Linked DNA regions of Homo sapiens: region 1 is linked to region 2. The links are contacts of gene promoters, found by promoter capture Hi-C in human tissues and cell types (Jung and others, 2019). All regions are on one chromosome and are shown on one strand. The core of a region is centred on a gene start or on the middle of the fragment in contact, and the rest is flanking DNA. Distances in the headings are between cores, read along the strand shown.

Region 1 (3,270 bases), core at 45-2,544, 1.0 Mb before region 2:
TCAGCCTCCCCACATGCGGTTATTATAGTTGATATGTCTGAACCAAAATGATATGGGAAGCTTGAGAATAAAAGGTTGGAGACAATATGCCACAGAGAGAGTAACCAAAGATAATCTGTTATAACTATATCTCAGACAAAACTGACCAGAAATCCTAAAGAATTAACAGAGAGAAAGAGAAACAATGCTCACTGAAAAGAGGTGAAATTTGGCTCTTCATTCATAGAAATACACCATATGTATACCCCTAACAACAGTCTTGAAATGTATACAGCAAAAAATAGAACCAAAAACAAGAAATAGAAAATTCAGACTAAAGACTTTAACAGACCTTTCCTAGTAACTGACAGAACAGACCATCAACAAACAAAATAAAATTTATAAATGAGAAAGAAATGAATCTTTTATCTGAGGAATGTGACTCCCTTTAAATTATCAGGTCTAGAGAGGCATTAAAATGTGACAGCAGTCTTTCTGATAGGGGTTCCCCTGAAAAAAAGAAAAAAGAAAAAATTAAAAACTAAAAAAAAAATTTAATGTGACAATAGTCACATCTCATTTCCCCCTCAAGCTAAATAATTATCTCTTAAAGCCACTTGCTATGTAGGCTCTAGACTAACTCACACTGAGTAGCCATAAAATGCCATTCACTGGACATCCTAACTCATAAAACCCCATAGTTAACAATGTACAGCCAATTGTTAATTGATATTATTTCTGTAAACCAATGAGAATTCTTGCCAAACAACTTTATGTCAGCTCACGGTTTGTTCCCTTTTGACTTTAAAACCTGTTTCTAACAAAATCCTAACAGAGCACTTAACCAAGGCAACCTGAAAGTATTTTCCCAGGCAGCTGTCCTCATTTTGGCTCAAGTAAACTCTTTAAAATTGTATTTTGTGCAGTTTCCTCTTTTAGGCTGACATAAACGATATCATTTAGAAGAACTCGAATATATTTTTAAAATTAGATTTACTGAGATAAATTTTAACAGTTTTAAATAAATGCAAAGATGTACTATAAAGATGGGCTGGAAAACAAAGCATTTTAAAAATGTCAAGTCTCCCAAATCTACAGATTCAATGAAATCACAGTCACAATCCCAAACTGATACTGAAAAGTTTAAATAGCTATAAACTTTTTTTTAAAGTTTGAAAAAAAAGTTAGAAGACTTGCCATATCAGTTATGAGGACTTATAAAGCTACTTTAATTAGGACAGCACAATATTAGTACAATAACAGGCAAATAGGACAAAGGAACAGAATAAAATCCTTATAAGCAGAATTAAGCACATATAGAGACTCAATGGCAATGATAGCACTACAGGGAAGTAGATAAAAGCTGTCTTTTCAATAAATGGAACTAAGGGCGCCGTGGCTCACGCCTGTAATCCTAGCACTTTGGGAAGCTGAGGAAGGTGTGGGGGAAAGAGAGATCAGACTGTTACTGTGTCTATATAGAAAGAGGAAGACATAAGAAACTCCATTTTAATCTGTACAAAGAAAAGTTCCTCTGTCTTGAGATACTGTTAATCTGTAACCCTAGCCCCAACCCTGTGCTCAGAAACGTGTGCTGTGTTGGCTCAAGGTTTAATGGATTTAGGGCTGTGCAGGACGTGCTTTGTTAAAATGTGTTTGCAGGCAGTATGCTTGGTAAAAGTCATCACCATTCTCCAGTCTCAAGTACCCAGGGACACAATGCACTGCGGAAGGCCGCAGGGACCTCTGCCCAAGAAAGCCTGGGTATTGTCCAAGGTTTCCTCCCACTGATACAGCCTGAGATATGGTCTCGTGGGAAGGGAAAAACCTGACCATCTCCCAGCCCAACACTCGTAAAGGGTCTGTGCTGAGGAGGATTAGTGAAAGAGGAAGACCTCTTTACAGTTAAAATAAGAGAAAGCCATCTGTCTCCTGCTCCTCCCTGGGAATGGAATGTCCCGGTATAAAACCCAATCATACATTCTATTTACTAAGATAGGAGAAAACCACCTTATAACTAAAGGTGAGACATACTGGCGGCAATACTACTCTTTACTACACTAAGATGTCTGTGTAAAGTCAAACATAAATCTGGCCTACGTACACATCAAGGCACAGGACCTTTCCTTAAACTTATTTATAACACAGAGTCCTTTACTCACATGTTTTCCTACTGACCCTCTCCCCACCATTACCCTATAGTCCTGCCACACCCCCCTCACCAAGATGGTAAAAATAGTAATCAATAAATACTAACAAAACTCAGAGACCAGTGCCGGTGTGGGTCCCCCATATGCTGAACACCAGTCCCCTGGGCCCACTTTTCTTCCTCTGTACTTTCTCTCTGTGTCTGATTTCTTTTCTCAGTCTCTCATTTCCACCTTGCAAAAAATACCCACAGGTGTGGAGGGGCAGGCCCCCTTCAGGCAGGTGGACCACTTGAGCCAGAGTTGGAGACCAGCCTGGCCATCATGGTGAAACCCCATCTCTACTAAAAATACAAAAATTAGCCAGGCAAGGTGGCACCTGCTGGTAATTCCAGCTACTCGGGAGGCCGTGGCACAAGAATCACTTGAGCCCAGAAGGCAGAGGTTGCAGTTGAGCCAAGCACGCCACTACACTCCAGCCTGGGCGACGAGAGCAAGACTCTATCTAAAAAAATTAAAAAAAAAAAAAAAAATCAATAAATGGTACTGGGGATGGGGACAGAAAGTTAAAACCCCCCTCACAACATACACAAAAACCATTTTAGAATCAACTGTCAATTTCAATGGTAGAAACATATCAATAAAGCTTTAAAGAACATTAATATAGGAGAATCTCTCAATGTTATTAGGGTATGGCCAGATATTTTAAAGAGGCCACATAAAGCACCCTATAAAGCAAACTATATCCTGCTAGGGGAACTGTAAGTGGTACAACCACTTTAGAAAACAGTTTGACATCTATTTAGACGGAGTTTATACACACTCTATGAAGCAGCAATTTTCCTCCGAGGTGCACATCTAGATATACATCTCTGCCTCCCCCATATGAGAGCACATATGAACCAAAAGACATTTACACAAATTTTCACACATGCATTATTCTTAATAATACAAGCTTTAGGTAATACAAATGTAATTAATAATAGAAAAAACTGCTATATTTTACATAATGGAATGTGATAGAAAACCTATTATACCTTTGGTCCAGCCTGCAAGAATGCTTTTTACATTTTTGAAAGACTGTAAAACAAAAAGCAAATTAGCATATGCAAGAGACCATATGTAGCCTGCAAGCCCTAAAATA
Region 2 (2,946 bases), core at 345-2,844:
CGCAATCTCTCCCTCCCAAGTTCAAGCGATTCTCCTGCCTCAGCCTCCTGAGTAGCTGGGATTACAGGCAGGTGCCACCAAAAAAAGACCAAAAAAAATTTTTTTTTTTTTTTGGTATTTTTAGTAGAGATGGGGTTTCTCCATGCTGGTCAGACTGGTCTTGAACTCCCAACCTCAGGTAATCCGCCTGCCTCGGCCTCCCAAAGTGCTGGGATTACAGGCATGAGCCACCGTGCCCAGCCAAATTTTTTTTTTTGTTCAATGTTGCCCAGGTTGGCCTCAAACGCGTAGCCTTGCCTCCTTGTGACCCAGGACAACCGGCCAGAGCCAATGCAGCTCCCTGTCCTGCTTAGTTGAGCCAGTTCAGCATTGGGAAGCTTACCCAGGGAAAGACTGATGGATGTATTTCACTCAATTGCCAGCCTGTAGAGGCTATAAATGCCTTCTGGTGTTTGTGGACACCTTTATTGGGTGGGTTAAAGCCTTTCCTACAAGAACAGAAAAGGCCCAGGAAGTAGCCAAGGTACTTCTTAAAAAAAAAAAAAAAATCATCCCGGCCGGGCGTGGTGGCTCACTTCTGTAATCTCAGCACTTTGGGAGGCCGAGGCAGGCGGATCACGAGGTCAGAGAATTGAGACCATCCTGGCTAACACAGTGAAATCCTGTCTCTACTAAAAAAGAGAAAAAATTAGGTGGGTGTGGTAGCGGGCGCCTATAGTCCCAGCTACTCAGGAGGCTGAGGCAGAAGAATGGTGTGAACCCGGGAGGTGGAGCTTGTGGTGAGCTGAGATTGTGCCACTGCACTCCAGCCTGGACAACAGAGCGAGACTCCGTCTCAAAAACAAAAAGAAAAAAAAAATCACCCCTCAGTGTGGGTTTAGTTTGTGTTTACAAAGTGACAACGGCCCAGTTTTTATTTCACGCACCCTTTAATTAGTGACAAAAGCCCTAGAAATAAAGTACTCCTAGCACTCCTGGAGAACACATTCCTCTGGCAAGGTAGAAAGCACTAATCAAACTATTAAAAGGACCCTGAACAAAGTGTGCCAGGAAACCTCCTCACCATGGTTAGAACTCCTGTCCGTAGCACTGTTCTGAGCATGACCCCTAATATTACTTATGCCTTCCTACATGCAGACCTAATGTTAGATCCAGAAGTTACCCAATTAATCAAATACATAACATCACTGGCCCAATTTCAACAAGCCATCCAGGAGTTTGAGCAAAAGGTACTGCCTGCCACTGACCCCTCCAGTAATCAACCCTTATACTAGCCAGGGTCACAAGTCCTCATCAAAACCTGGAGAGATGGGTCACCCAGGTCTCAACTAGCCTGGGTCTCTCCTTTATGGAAAGGCCCCTTTATTACTTTCTACCCCGACAGCTATCAAAGTTTCTGGAATCTCTAGTTGGATACATCACTCCTGAGTAAAACTGTGAGAAGGTCCCGAAGAACCAACAACAGAATCAGCATCTGAGTAGTCTCATGAGCCAGCCACTGGAGAGCTTCCAATTCCTCTTCAAGTGAAAAGATAAGTAAAGCCTTCTCTCCTTTCACCTCAAAAAAAGGTCTCTCAGTACGGGGAATCTTGGTTGCGGTGGCATCGGTTCTTCTCCTTATTTTGACCCACACTGGCATGCCACCTGAAGTCCCGATAACAGCCTGATTTCTCACTAAACACTCCATCGAACCATTTCATTATTTGTCTCTCCTATTTTCAGCACTTTCCTTTTGCTTTCACAAAGCTTAAGGGAGAATCAGCTATGACAGAGAAATTCCTTTTCCTTTATCTTTCCCTCCTTCCCATGCCCCTACTCTCACAGGCACAGTGGAATGAAAATTCCCTTGTCAGTTTTTCCAAAATAATTGCTTCGGGAAACCATCTAAGCAACTGTTGGATCTGCCACAACTTCATCACCAGGTCCTCATCTTACCAATATATTTTGGTAAGAAATTTTTCTTTAAACCTAACATTTGGTTCAGGAATCCCTGAAGGCCAACATAAATCTGTTCCGCTCCAGGTTTCGCTTGCTAACTCAGCGCACCAAGTCCCCTGCCTGGATCTCACTCCACCTTTCAATCAAAGCTCTAAAACTTCTTTCTATTTCTACAACTGCTCTTCTCTAAACCAAACCTGTTGTCCATGCCCTGAAGGACACTGTGACAGGAAGAACACCTCTGAGGAGGGATTCCCCAGTCCCACCATCCATCCCATGAGCTTCTCCCCAGCAGGCTGCCACCCTAACTTGACTCACTGGTGTCCAGCTAAACAAATGAACGATTATCGAGACAAGTCACCCCAAAACCGCTGTGCAGCTTGGGAAGGAAAAGAGCTAATCACATGGAGGGTTCTATATTTGCTTCCCAAGGCACACACTGTCCCCACATGGCCAAAATCTACTGTTCCCCTGGGAGGGCCTCTATCCCCTGCATGCAATCAAACTATTCCAGCAGGGTGGAAATCGCAGTTACACAAGTGGTTCGACAGCCACATCCCCCGGTGGGCCTGTACCCCTCCTGGCTATGTATTTTTATGTGGGCCACAAAAAAATAAACTGCCCTTTGATGGAAGTCCTAAGATAACTTATTCAACCCCCCCTGTGGCAAACCTCTACACTTGCATTAATAACATCCAACATACGGGAGAATGTGCTGTGGGACTTTTGGGACCACGGGGGATAGGTGTGACCATTTATAACACCACCCAACCCAGACAGAAAAGAGCTCTGGGTCTAATACTGGCAGGGATGGGTGCGGCCATAGGAATGATCGCCCCATGGGGAGGGTTCACTTATCATGATGTCACCCTCAGAAATCTCTCCAGACAAATAGACAACATAGCTAAGAGTACCAGAGATAGCATCTCTAAACTCAAGGCCTCCATAGATTCTCTAGCAAATGTAGTCATGAACAACAGATTGGCCTTAGATTACCTCTTAGCAGAG

Evidence for each region. Contacts are between HindIII fragments. The study calls those that stand out against the background at their distance.
Region 1: a fragment that was not itself captured here is called in contact with the fragment with the promoter of ERVV-1 in region 2 in 1 of the 25 tissues and cell types used here (psoas muscle).

Annotation. Positions count from the first base shown.
Region 1 is chr19:51,981,543-51,984,812 of GRCh38, forward strand. All of the region lies in intron 1 of ZNF350 (zinc finger protein 350), which reads right to left. Among named protein-coding and RNA genes, the nearest start is that of ZNF350, 3.7 kb to the right of the region's middle. The HindIII fragment of the contact is 5,256 bases long and covers 1-3,270 here.
Region 2 is chr19:53,012,327-53,015,272 of GRCh38, forward strand. It overlaps ERVV-1 (endogenous retrovirus group V member 1, envelope), which reads left to right and starts at 1,595. Exons shown (of 1, transcript NM_152473.3): 1 at 1,595-2,946. The coding sequence starts at 1,765. The region is part of intron 1 of LOC124904758 (a long non-coding RNA gene); the gene reads right to left. The HindIII fragment of the contact is 3,820 bases long and covers 1-2,603 here.